2 separate regions of the Homo sapiens genome follow, and region 2 is linked to region 1. The links are contacts of gene promoters, found by promoter capture Hi-C in blood cells and fetal thymus (Javierre and others, 2016). All regions are on one chromosome and are shown on one strand. The core of a region is centred on a gene start or on the middle of the fragment in contact, and the rest is flanking DNA. Distances in the headings are between cores, read along the strand shown.

Evidence for each region. Contacts are between HindIII fragments. The CHiCAGO score rates a contact against its expected background, and 5 or more counts as called.
Region 2: a fragment that was not itself captured here is called in contact with the fragment with the promoter of FAF2 in region 1 in 1 of 17 cell types (naive CD4 T cells); the score reaches 5.9 in naive CD4 T cells.

Annotation. Positions count from the first base shown.
Region 1 is chr5:176,445,135-176,451,778 of GRCh38, reverse strand. FAF2 (Fas associated factor family member 2) reads right to left here and starts at 3,394. Exons shown (of 11, transcript NM_014613.3): 1 at 3,309-3,394. The coding sequence starts at 3,371. RefSeq lists enhancers at 3,314-3,373, 3,684-3,743, 3,824-4,013 and a silencer at 3,454-3,503. The HindIII fragment of the contact is 11,476 bases long and covers 2,966-6,644 here.
Region 2 is chr5:176,598,448-176,605,091 of GRCh38, reverse strand. GPRIN1 (G protein regulated inducer of neurite outgrowth 1) reads left to right here. Exons shown (of 2, transcript NM_052899.3): 2 at 5,215-6,644. The coding sequence starts at 5,258. Among named protein-coding and RNA genes, the nearest start is that of GPRIN1, 8.4 kb to the left of the region's middle. The HindIII fragment of the contact is 6,641 bases long and covers 2,072-6,644 here.

The sequences.
Region 1 (6,644 bases), core at 2,145-4,644:
CACGTATATATATGTATATATACAATATACATATATACACATATATATATATCTATATATATCGCATACCCATTATTCATGTGTGTACTTGACTTCTCCATTAAGTTACACAGAAGATGGTTGTGGATATAAATTTCTAAATCTCTACCACTTACTACTTGTGAAAGCTATTTGACCTCTCAGAACCTGTTTCTTCATTATTAAAATGAACAAGATTAACCCTTTACACTGTTATATTAAAAGGTTTAAAAGAGTTAAGGGGCCAGGTGTGGTGGCTCACATCTGTAATCTCAACACTGAGGCAACTCATCTCAACACTGTAATCTCAACCTCTGAGGCAGCAGTTTGAGAGCAGCCTGGACAACATAGCAAGACTCCCGTCTCTACTTAAAAAAAAATTTTTTTTTTGAGACAGAGTCCCGCTCTGTTGCCCAGGCTGGAGTGCAGTGGCACGATCTTGGCTCACTGCAACCTCCACCTCCCGGGTTCAAGTGAGCCTCCTGCCTCAGCCCCCCTAGTAGCTGGGATTACAGGCACATGCCACCATGCCTGGCTAATTTTTGTATTTTTAGTAGAGACGAGGTTTTGCCATGTTGGCCAGGCTGGTCTCGAACTCCTGATCTCAGGTGATCCACCTGCCTCGGCCTCCCAAAGTGCTGGGATTACAAGCATGAGCCACCACACATGGTCTAAAATATTTTTCTTAAAAAAAGAGTTAATGTACATCAACTGCTGCTTGGTATAATGCTTGGCATCTAATAAGTTTCAACAACTGTTTGTTTAATGGCAGTCTGGATAATGAATCTGATCCAGCGATTGCTTATAGAATAGAAAAATGAAAGATGCATTTCCCTCAATAAATCCAATTTCATAAGGCAATCTTAATACAGCTCGAACCTGCTACCCACCTCTCTTCTAATAAAGATCTCCACAGTTTTGGCCGGGCGCGGCGGCTCACGCCTGTAATCCCAGCCGAGGAGGGCGGATCACGAGGTCAAGAAATCGAGACCATCCTGGCCAACATCGTGAAACCCCGTCTCTACTAAAAATACAAAAAATTCGCTGGATGTGGTGGCGCGTGCCTGTAGTCCCAGCTACTCGAGAGGCTGAGGCAGGAGAATCGCTTGAAACTGGAAGGCGGAGGTTGCAGTGAGCCGAGATCGCGCCACTGCACTCCAGCCTGGGCAACAAGAGCGAAACTCCGTCTCAAAAAAAAAAAAAAGATCTCCACAGAAGATAAAATGGAGGTTCCTATGCACTTTACTTCAGAAATGCTATCATAGATTTATATTCATGCTCTTCCAGTATGAGACTAAATATACCATAATTTATAACTCACATTACTTCATTGCACTTAAACCACATGTTAGCTTACCCCTGAAGAGTTCTAAGGGGTAAAATGGTCTGCCAAAGTTAAACAACACTCTGAAATTGGTGGTCTACCTGGAAGTGTAAGCTGGTTGTCTGTTTAACTCATTCTCTAATAATAATTTGCTGGGTCATCAATTCAATTTCTCTACCAAAAATTCCAATCAAATGTCAATTACATCTATGACAGCATTTTTCCATTTATACACTTCCAACACACTGCTCAATTTAAGAGGGGAAAAAATAACCACTTCAAAATTTATTATAGTGAAGTCTATTCAAGGAAATTGCAAAAAAGTGAGAACTCGCCAAAAAAATATTTATTTTCTCAGCATTTGCATTCCACACTCAACTGTACACTGAAATATAAGTTGCACAAGACAGAAGTCAGAAGCCTGGGAAGGGTTCTGGAAGATGGACATAGCTTTAAATCTGACACCATCATTTTCTAGCTGTGTAACCTAAGCATTTTATTTCTTAGTCCTGATACCCTTCATCTGTAAATCAGGGACTAGAACAGTATGAACCTCATAGGGTTGCTGTATTAAATGAGGTTATGTATGCTAAGTGTTTACAAAGTACTTACATCTGAAATAGTAAGTGGGATTCTACCTAGCAGCGCTGCGCACTAAGGTTCTTCATATAGTTGAATAAATGAATATTTACACATTTTATATAAGGAAATAAGTGTATCAATAACTTTAGGTCTATCCTAAGTCAAATTAATAGCAGAAAATACTATTTGGGGGCATTTTGCAGTCTACAAGGCCCTTCTAACATCCATATGTCCATTTGATCTCCCGAACATCCTCAGGAGGTAGATTTTTTTTTTTTTGAGACGGAGTTTCACTCTTGTTGCCCAGGCTGGAGTGCAGTGGCACGATCTCGGCTCACTGCAACCTCCGCCTCCCGGGTTCAAGCGAGTCTCCTGCCTTAGCCTCCCGAGTAGCTGGGACCACAGGCGTGCACCACCACGCCCGGCTAATATTTGTATTTTTAGTAGAGACGGGGTTTCACCATATTGGCCAGAGTGGTCTCGAACTCCTGACCTCGTGATTCGCTGGCCTTGGCCTCCCAAAGTGCTGGGATTACAGGCGTGAGCCACCGCTCCTGGCCTGGGGGTAGACATTTTTAAGACAGTCCTTTCAGAGATAAGGAAACTGGTAACAAAGTGCCAAGGTTACCCACCCTAGTGGTATCCTCCAACCATTCTCCAGCTCAGGGGTAAGTGATCAGTGGCAAATGTTCTTAATACAACATCTTGTATTAACATAACATTTCTGCAAGTTACCACCCTCCTCAAGCATAGTTAAGCACAGGAATCCAGGAATAAGCCAAAAGTAATAAATCCCGACAGACCACTGATGACACTTATCATCTTGCATTGTTTCCTCACTTGGTGTCCTCCCACACCTCTAGGGCGGGGACCAGATCTGTGTGTAGGTGCCCCCTCCCCGACCGGAACCCCCAACACGAAACCTGGTATCCAAGAGGCCCCAGTTTGTGGGAGTGTATGTGGAAATGGCATGGGATGCTGGCAGGAGGTTTTCCTGTCAGAGACCCGAAATGACGCCAACTCCGCGGTGGGGACTAAGCTTCTCCGGCAGATATAGACTCGTTGGGCGGAGAGGGTCCGACCGATAACCGGGCTGGGAAGGATGGCTGAGGACTGACGCCGCTAAGGCAAACCAGGGAAGCTGACACGCTGAGGGCACAGAGGCACAGACGAGGCGGGTCTGCCCGCAGCGATGGCTGGAAGGCTAGGGTCCAACAGAGGCTTGGGGGCCGGGGGAATCAGGGCAGTTGGAGTCTGGGGGGGAGGGGGCCGGCCTGCTGGTCTGAGAAGGATCTGAACCCAATCTGAGGAGGGTTCTGAACTCCTCTAGGGGCCTACTCCCCATCCCACGGAGGCATCTGCTGCACCGAGTACTCGCTGCTACCTGAAACTGCAGCAGCTTCTCTGTCTGCTCCTGGGTTAGATCCCGCTCCTCAGGCGCCGCCATTTTGCCGCCGCCTCTACGCTCCTGACCCGTCCGCACCGTCACCCGCCGGAACTGACCTCAGCCACAACCACATCCGGTCTGAACGGCCGCCGGCGCGCAACTGCGTCTGCGCGCGCTGGCCCACTAACCTCCCCCCGCCCCCCGCCACCTCTGGCCGCCGCCAGAGGGCGCCACGCTCGGGCCTATCCCGAACACTTCCGGAAATTGCCGAGGGACTGTCGGTACAAGTCGCTCTTACCATTTAGGCGACGAAAGGATCTGCTAAGATTAGGCGACGAAAGGAGACCTAAGATTCCAGTGCAGTCTTGCAGAGCCGAGAGGGCCCGAATGTGCCTCGAGAAGCTCCGGAGCATCCCGAATGGCATTCGGCTGATTTCGGCTGCTCTCTAACCATTTTCCGGCAACCTCAGATACTCTTGGAGGTTTCTCGGGAGACGCAGCCGTTCCGAAATACCAGCCTTTTGGTCGCTGGCCCCTGACCTAAAGTTTCCAAAAGCTCCTGACCATCTCTCGGGAGGTTCCGAAGGGCTCTGGATACTGGCGCGGCATTTCCGACGCCGCCTTCGAAGCGGAAGCTGTGGGCAGACTTCGGCCACCGTTCCATTGCCGCTTCGGGGTCACTTGCAGGAAGATCTGGACTCGGCTCCCCGGATCCTCGACCATTCATGGCGCCCCCAGTCGTCCGCACAGCTTGCCGTCCACCGCCGTGACTGCGGCGCTGGAACCCCGGCCCGGCATCTGCTTTTCCGTGCCTGGAGCCTTGTCTCTCCGCACTAGCGCTGCACTGGCCCCTTGTCTCTGTGACAGGCGAAGAAAGATCCCTGGACCGGGATTAGGAGACGCGGGTTCTAGTTGCCACCTTGCCAACTGCTGGACATCCTTGGGCAAACCACTTGGGCTCCATTTTGCCATTTGTTGAATGAGATTCCCCAAAAGCCCCTGACGTGCTGCCGCCGCCCCTTCTCCTCGAGGCAGTCCCCTGCCCTTCCCTTCTGCTGCTTACACTACCCTATCACCACCCCTCAATCTCTATCTTCCTCTGCACGTCCCTTGCCCCTTCTAGTCCGCCACCTCTCTTTAGATTTCCCGTTTTCATTTCCACCTCTCCCGCCGAACGCCTCCTCTGCCCACCTTCCAGAGAGGCCTGGGTCTGGTACACGCTTTTCCACTGACCACCTGTGTGATTCTCAGCAAGGCTCTCGGCCGCCTGCGCCCCACCCTCGTCCCCTTGCAGGGTTGATCCGGTGAGACAGAAAAGGCTTTGAGAGCTGGTTCTGTGAAGAGTACATGAAATTTTGGCTACTTCTTTCAGGACTTATCAGGTCTTACCAGGTCTGCACAAACCACGACGTCCTGGAAAAACAGCACATGGTACGCCCTAAAACACAACCCCCAAAAAGTGCTAATTGGAAAAACAAAACAAAACAAAACAAAAACCCTGCAAATTTGGATCTGCATATGAAATCTTTCCGTTTAAAAATGGTGTCGGCCGGGCTCTGTGGCTCACGCCTGTAATCCCAGCGCTTTGGGTGGCCGAGGCGGGCGGATCACTTGAGGTCAGGAGTTCGAAACTGGCCTGGCCAACATGGCGAAACCCTGTCTCTACTAAAAATACAAAAATTAGCCAGGGTTGGTGGCGCACGCCTGTAGTCCTAGCTACTCGGGAGGCTGAGGCAGGAGAATCGCTTGAATCTGGGAGGCGGAGGTTGCAGTGAACTGAGATTGCCCCACTGTACTCCAGCCTGGGCGACGGAGTGAGACTCCGTCTCAAAAATAAATAAATAAATAAATAATATGTCAATTAAGTAAAAACCCCCGAAGGTAAAATCGGAAGCAGATAGCTGCTACTCTATAGAGAATTTATTACAGCAGCTCAAAGCTCAAAGGAAACTCAGTGTTGTTCAATCTCACCAATAACGTTGGGTTCAGATAAACTAAATGAGGGTTGGCAAAGTCAGATGTCCTCAGGAATTGTGTAATTCTCACTTAAGATATATACTTGCCAGCAGGCATGGTGGCAAATGCCTGTAGTCCCAGCTACTCGGGAGGCTGAGGTGAGAGGACCACTTGAGGCCATGAGTTCAAGGCTGTTGTATGCTGTGATCACACCACTGCATTCCAGCCTGGGTAACATATTCTTTCAACAGACCTAATTTGTAGTTATATGAAACACCATTGAATATTTCTTCACTTCCTCAAAGAAAGTTACACTTTCTTTTTCTATCTTTCTGTTTTCTTCTTTCTTTCTTTCTTTTCTTTGAGACGGAGTCTTGCTCTATCGCCCAGGCTGTAGTGCAGTGGCCTGATCTTGGCTCACTGCAAGCTCTGCCTCCTGGGTTCATGCCATTCTCCTGCCTCAGCCTCCTGAGTAGCTGAGGCTTACAGGTGCCTGCCACCATGCCCGGCTAATTTTTTTTTTGTATTTTTAGTAGAGATGGGGTATCACCGTCTTAGCCAGGATGGTCTACGATCTCCTGACCTCGGGATCCGCCCGCCTCGGCCTCCCAAAGTGCTGGGATTACAGACGTGAGCCATCGCACCTGGCCCTGTTTTCTTCTTTCAATAAAGATTAGGTTACAAGAAATAATTCATTTGTTTAAAACTCTACTTTAATGTGTCTCCGTGTGGGGACAAAATATGAAAAGCCGGAGTGTCCATTCCCTGTCCAAAGGTGGTTTTTGGCCAGACGCGGTGGTTCATGCCTGTAATCCCAGCATTCTGGGAGGCCAAGGTGGGAGGATTGTTTGAGCCTAGGAGTTGGGGACCAGCCTAGGCAATATAGTGAGACTGCCTCTACCAATTTTTTTTTTTTTTTTTAATTAGCCAAGTGTGGGCCGGGCACGGTGGCTCACACCTGTAATCCTAGCACTTTGGGAGGCTGAGGCGGGCAGATCTTGAGGTCAGGAGATCAAGACCATTCTGGCTAACACAGTGAAACCCTGTCCCTACTAAAAATAAAAAAAAATTAGCCAGGCATGGTGGCAGATGCCTGTAGTCCCAGGCCGAGGCAGGAGAATCGCTTGAACCTGGGAAGCAGAGGTTGCGGTGAGCCGAGATCGTGCCACTGCACTCCAGCCTGGGCAACAGAGCGAGACTCTGTCTCAAAAAAAAAAAAAAAGTTAGCTGAGTGTGTTAGTACGCATCTGCAGTTCTACCTAGTTAGGATGCTGAGGCAGGGATGATCACTTAAACCCGGGAGGCAGAGGTTGCAGTGAGCCATAGTCATGACTGCACTCCAGCCTGGGTAACAGAGCAAGACCCTGTCTCAAAAAA
Region 2 (6,644 bases), core at 4,143-6,642, 150 kb before region 1:
TTTTGTTTAGCCTGTATGATATTTTTTAAATTAGCCAATATTTAAAACATGGATATCCATGCTGGGCGCGGTAGCTCATGTCTGTAATCCCAGCACTTTGGGAGGCCAAGGTAGGCAAATCACCTGAGGTCAGGAGTTCGAGACCAGCCTGACCAACATGGAGAAACCCTGTCCCTACTAAAAATACAAAATTAGCTGGGCATGGTGGCGCATGCCTGTAATCCCAGCTACTTGGGAGGCTGAGGCAGGAGAATCACTTGAACCTGGGAGGCAGAGGTTGCAATGAGCCAAGATAGCACCATTGCACTCCAGCCTGGACAACAAGAGCAAAACTCTGTCTCAATAAATAAATAAATAAAATACAGATATCCAGATTTATGACTTAGCTAAAAAAAAATTTAGGAAACCTGGAGGCACAGCGGCCACATTCACTTCCCTGCTTAAATACTTCCAAGGGGCGGGATACAGTGGCTCACTAGGCGCTAGGTATAATCCTATTGTAGACACGAGATCCTGCTATGTTGCCCATGCTGGTCTGGAACTCTTGGCCTCAAGAGATCAAGGTATAATCCTATTACATTGAGAGGCTGGGGTGGGAGGATCACTTGAGCCCAGGAGGTCAAGGCTGCAGTGAGCCGAGATCGCGCCACTGCACTCCAGCCTGGGCAACAGAGTGAGACATTGTCTCAAATAAAAAGAAAATACTTCCAGGGTTTCCAGTGCCCTTAGGCTAAACCCCCCTCCTCCACCATGCCTCATGTGATTTGCTGCCTCCTCTTCCGCTGCCACCCCCTTTCCGACTCCACTCCAGCTCTTCATGGCTGGCTCAGATGGTAACTGCCTCAGAGGGGCCTTTCTTGACCACATGTCTAAACCAGCTGCCCACTCCTTTGTCTTCACAGCATCCATTATTTGAAATACTATGATTTATTTGCCACTTGTTTATTTCTCTCCTCCCAATCTTTCTGCATCTATAAGGCAGGGACCCCACATTTCTTATTCACTGCTGTATCCCCAGTCCCAAGAATAATGCCTAGAACATTGCCTGTGTGCTCAGTAAATGCTGAGTTAATGGAATGATTCCTAATTGGCCACAGCTGGCAGGAATTGAGTGCCGTTGCCCCTTTAGAAGGGGCCAGTGCCCTCTAGTTTGCCACAGTCCCCACCACTCCCTCTTGTCTCCCTCAGTCTGGGGATGTCAGGAGTCTTTCATCATCTCCCTTGTAGGAGAAAACAAATATTTGTGCCCATATCACTATCAAAAGGCCAAAGATGAAGATGGACTCAATTCACGCCACTCAAATCTGATGCCTGCCTGACCCCTGCAGGCTGGTGACCATCCAGTGATCCCACGAATTCCAACCAGACCTCTCCCGTGCTTCTGGCCTGCTTCCTACTGCCTCCTGGATGTCACCCCCCATAAGTCCCATGGGCACTCCAGTTCCACTTCCGAAACCCAGTGCCCCATGATCCTCTGCAAAACTGTTCCTCTTCCTGTGTTCCCTCTTAGTGATGGTCCCCCTCCCCCACCTCATAAGCCAGAGCCTGAGGGACCCAGTAGTGAACAGTATCGACTGTGTCCCCATCCAGAGACCTGAGGTCTGGCCAGGGACCCAGAGGTGTAAATGGCCAGATGCAGAGTGACATGAGCCTTGTTAGAGGAGGAACGAGAGGCTACAGGAATCCCCAGGAAGCTGGTAGCCAAACAAGGCCCACTAGAGGAGGAGGTGTTTTAACGGAGATCTGAAGGTGTAATAAGAGACAGCCAGGCAAGAAGGGAGGGAGAGATTCCTCCAGAAGAGGGTGTGTAGAGGCTGAGATGGTGGGGGAGAGAGAGAGTGTGTATCTGTGTGTGTACATGTTTTGGGGGTGGGAGTGGGTAATGAAAGATAAATCCCAGCACTTAAGTAGAAACATAGGGGCTTAGGAGCATATTAAAGAGCTGGACTTTACCCCAAAGGTAAGAGTGAGTCATTAAAGGTTTCTCTTTATTGTCCATTGGAAAAAAAAAGGACTATGTGCGCACATAACCACAATTTAAACATCACAAAGGGGCGCACAAAGAAAAGCTTCTCCCACCCTCAGATCCCCGCTCTTCCTTCTGAGAGGCAGTCACTGCTAAAAGTTTTATAGGATTCCATCCAGAAATTCTCTTTATAAATAAACCCATCCATGTGTGTCCTTTTCCTTGGCTACACGCGTGGGATCCCAGTAGCGATGCTGTCCCCTGGCCTTTTTCAATTAATTTATCTTGGGTGCTTTCCCTCATTACCCCACACCTTCTAGTAGCTGCCCGGTGCTCTGCGTGGTTGTCCCACAGTTCACAGAACCTGCCTCCCCGTCTTGTTCTCATCACTAGCCATGCCCTTGTGTACCCCAGGACCATCTTCAGGACCCCAGGTCTATCTTTAGGACCATGCTTAGAGGTGGGCTTGGTGGCTCAAATGCTATGCGCGTTGTAAACTTTGATAGAAATTGATAAATGTCCTTCTAAAAAGATTACAACTAATTTACATTTCCGGCAAGAATGAGGAGGGTTTTGAGCCAAGGAGGGCACAGGTGGCTCTGCATCTTAGGTCATTCAGTCATTCATGGAACAAATCCGTATGAGGATCTTCCTTGCTTACTGCATGTGTGCCAGGTCTCAACTCTGGGATATATCAGATAGCACAGCAAAGTCCCCACCTCCTGGAGCTGGCATTTTAATGAGAGCAACACACCACAAGCAATAAGCGAATATATGTGATATGTCAGATGGTGACAGGTACTATGGAGGAAAACTGATTAGAATAAGAGGGTGGAGAATGCCAGCCAGAGCTGGGGAGGAGGCTGTTTTACATTGCATGGGTCAGGGAAAGCCTTGGGGAGCCGACCATGCAGATATTTGGAGAGAAATCTCTCCATGCAGAAGAAGCAGGCAGCGCCAAGGCATGGAGGCAGGCGTGTTCAAGGCACAGCAAGGCGCACAGCGAGGCACCCCGCGTGGCTGAAGCAGCGTGAGGGAGAGGGAGAGCAGCAGCAGAAAGGGCAGAGGAGGTGACGGGGCCTGAAGATGCAGGGGCTTCTGAGCCATTCTAAGGAGTTTACTTTTACTTTGCATGGGATGGGGAGACACTGCCTGGTTCCGAGCAGAGGGGTACATGATTTGTCTCGGGTTTTACTAAGATCCCTCTGGCTGCTGTGTTGAGAATAAGCTATGGGACAAAGGAAAAGGCAGGGATAATCCAGGTGAGAGATGGTGGGGGGTCCAGATGGCAGTAGCCAGATGCTGGATATATTCTGATGGTAACTCCATTATGTTTTGCTGATAGACGTGGGGTGTGAAAGTCAAGGGTGATTAGGGATTTGGGCCTGAGCATTAAAGCCATGGTTTTGGAGCAGGTTTGAGGGGATCAGGAGCTCTATTTGCTTTGGCTACTGAGTGTGTAACGGAACGGGGTTGCTTGTAGGCCCAGCTGCCTGCTGGACCCTCTTCTTGGATATCCCCCAGGCACTACAAACTCAGCTTGTCCAAAAACGGATCTCCCTCTTTCCTACATCTCCTGCTCAGCACCATCACCCAGCAGCCCTCACCCTAGCCAGTACCCTGCAGACCGCCCCTGCCATTACCAGTACAGCCTGTTGGTACCTGTCAGTTTTCCTTTGGATTTCTCAATTCTGCCTTTAACTACCATCTCCAGGACCTCTGCTGTGCTGTCTCTCATCGAGATTCCTGCAACTGCTCAGGGCCTGTTGCAGAGAAGGGGCTAGGTGAATGAATGAAGGATTAAATGGATGAAAGATTAAATGAATGATTTACCAGCTTCCTCACAGGTCTTGGCCAACCCCTGTGCTCCTTCAGCCCAGCCTCCATACCATCCCAGAGGAATCTTTGAAAACACACACATCTGACTATGTCCCTTCCTTGACTATAAACCATTCACAGCTCTCCAGGGCCTACATAGACATAAACTGGTGGCCTACAGGCAAGTCTTGTTTGGCCCACATAATGTTTGGGTTTTTTTTTTTTAAACCTTTAATTAATTAGCATATTTTACATTAAAGTCTGGATTTCCCACTTAAGCAACTGGAAGAACTGGGACCACCAGGTTGCATTTCTCCAGGATAGCACTTGGCTGATGGGAGTAGTGGTTCTCCCTTTATTATTTTTATTAATTTTTGTTTTTGTTTATTTTTGAGATGGAGTCTTGCTCTGTTGCCCAGGCTGGAGTGCAGTGGCACGATCTTGGCTCACTGCAACCTCTGCCTCTCAGGTTCAAGCAATTCTCCTGCCTCGGCCTCCTGAGTAGCTGGGATTACAGGCGTGCACCACCACACCTGGCTAATTTTTTTGTATATTTAGTAGAGAGGGGGTTACACCATGTTGGCCAGGGGGGTCTTGAACTCCTGACCTCTAGTGATCCGTCAGCCTCAGCCTCCCAAAGTGCTGGGATTACAGGCGTGAGCCGCCGCACCCGGCCATCCCTTTAGACAGAGCATGTGCTCTCTAATTTGCCATAGTCCCCACCACTCCCTTTTGTCTTATACCTAACCCACTTCCCTCACTTAAATTACCTACTTGACCCCCGGACATCAGAGCTTGCAGCCCCTGGCCTAGAGGACAAAAGCATAACTTCTGGATAGTGTGTTGCATGGGGTGGGGTTGAACAGAGAGGGGCGATAGTAGGCAAAGTTGAAAAGTTAGGCTGTGGGTGGGGCGCAGTGGCTCACGCCTGTAATCTCAGCCTTTGGGAGGCTGAGGTGGGCGGATCACCTGAGGTCGGGAGTTCGAAACCAGCCTGACCAACAAAATACAAAATTAGCTGGGCGTGGTGGCGCATGCCTGTAGTCCCAGCTACTTGGGATGCTGAGGCAGGAGAATCGCTTGAACCCAGGAGGCGGAGGTTGCGGTTGCGGTGAGCTGAGATCGCGCCATTGCACTCCAGCCTGGGCAACAAGAGCGAAACTCTGTCTCAAAAAAGAAAAAGAAAAAGAAAGTTAGGCTGTGGCCAAGTTGTGAAGGGCGTTGAATGCCTTGTAAGACGTCTTTATACAGAGGGCCACTGGGAGCAGTGAAGCAGGGGAGTGACATGCTTGGGTTTGTGTTTTTAGTCTAGGTCCTCTGGACAGGTGGGGACCAGATGGGACACAGCACTCAGTGAGGAAGGGGAGAAGGCAGAGTCTCCTCCCCCACTGAGCTTTGGGAAGTCTGAGTCAGCTCTCTCTCTGTTTCAGAACCAGACAGCAGCCTTGGGTGCAGGCGTGGTCATGAGGGCAGATGGACACTGCTGAAGACCCGGCCTGGCTCCAGCTGCTTCAAAAGGATTCCAGCCCCCCAGGACCCCGACCCACAGCCTTCTTCTGCCCACAGGATGGGAGCCTGGGGGCTGGCAGCTCGGCTATGAGGGATTACTGCCCCTCCCAGCAAAAGGCAAGCCCTGCACCCCCCAGGCACACCCCTGACCAAAGCCCAGGCATGGAGTCTAGACACAGAAGCCCCAGTGGGGCTGGGGAAGGGGCCTCCTGCTCTGACGGCCCCAGAGGGAGCCTGGCCTGCCCCTCCCCAACCTGCTTCTCTCCCCAGGAGTCACCCTCCAAGGAGACATTGGAGGCACATGGAGCCTCCATCTCAGGGACACCAGAAGCCACCACGTCTGGGAAGCCAGAGCCTGTGTCCTCCGTGAAAACTGAGCCCAAATCCTCAGATGACAGAAATCCCATGTTCTTAGAGAAGATGGATTTCAAGTCCTCAAAGCAGGCCGATTCCACTTCCATAGGAAAGGAGGATCCTGGGTCCTCACGGAAGGCAGATCCCATGTTTACAGGAAAGGCAGAGCCTGAAATCTTGGGAAAGGGGGATCCTGTGGCTCCTGGAAGGATGGATCCCATGACTGTAAGAAAGGAAGATCTTGGATCCCTGGGAAAAGTAGATCCTTTGTGCTCCAGCAAGACGTATACAGTGTCACCGAGGAAGGAGGATCCTGGGTCTTTGAGAAAGGTGGATCCTGTGTCCTCAGACAAAGTGGACCCTGTATTCCCAAGAAAGGAGGAGCCCAGGTATTCAGGAAAAGAGCATCCTGTGTCCTCAGAAAAGGTCGCTCCTACATCTGCAGAAAAGGTAGATCTTGTATTGTCGGGAAAGAGAGATCCTGGGCCCTCGGGAAAGGCAGATCCCATGCCCTTGGAAAGCATGGATTCTGCGTCCACAGGAAAGACAGAGCCGGGGCTCCTGGGCAAGCTGATTCCAGGCTCATCAGGCAAGAATGGGCCTGTATCCTCTGGGACCGGGGCTCCTGGGTCCTTGGGAAGGCTGGATCCCACATGCTTGGGGATGGCAGATCCCGCATCTGTGGGAAATGTAGAAACTGTGCCTGCCACAAAAGAGGACTCCCGGTTCCTGGGAAAGATGGACCCTGCCTCCTCAGGAGAGGGGCGTCCTGTGTCTGGCCACACGGATACTACGGCTTCAGCAAAGACAGATCTCACATCTTTGAAAAATGTGGATCCCATGTCTTCAGGCAAGGTGGATCCAGTTTCTCTGGGAAAGATGGACCCCATGTGCTCAGGAAAGCCAGAGCTCTTGTCTCCTGGACAGGCAGAGCGTGTGTCTGTGGGAAAGGCAGGAACTGTATCCCCAGGAAAAGAGGACCCGGTGTCCTCCAGAA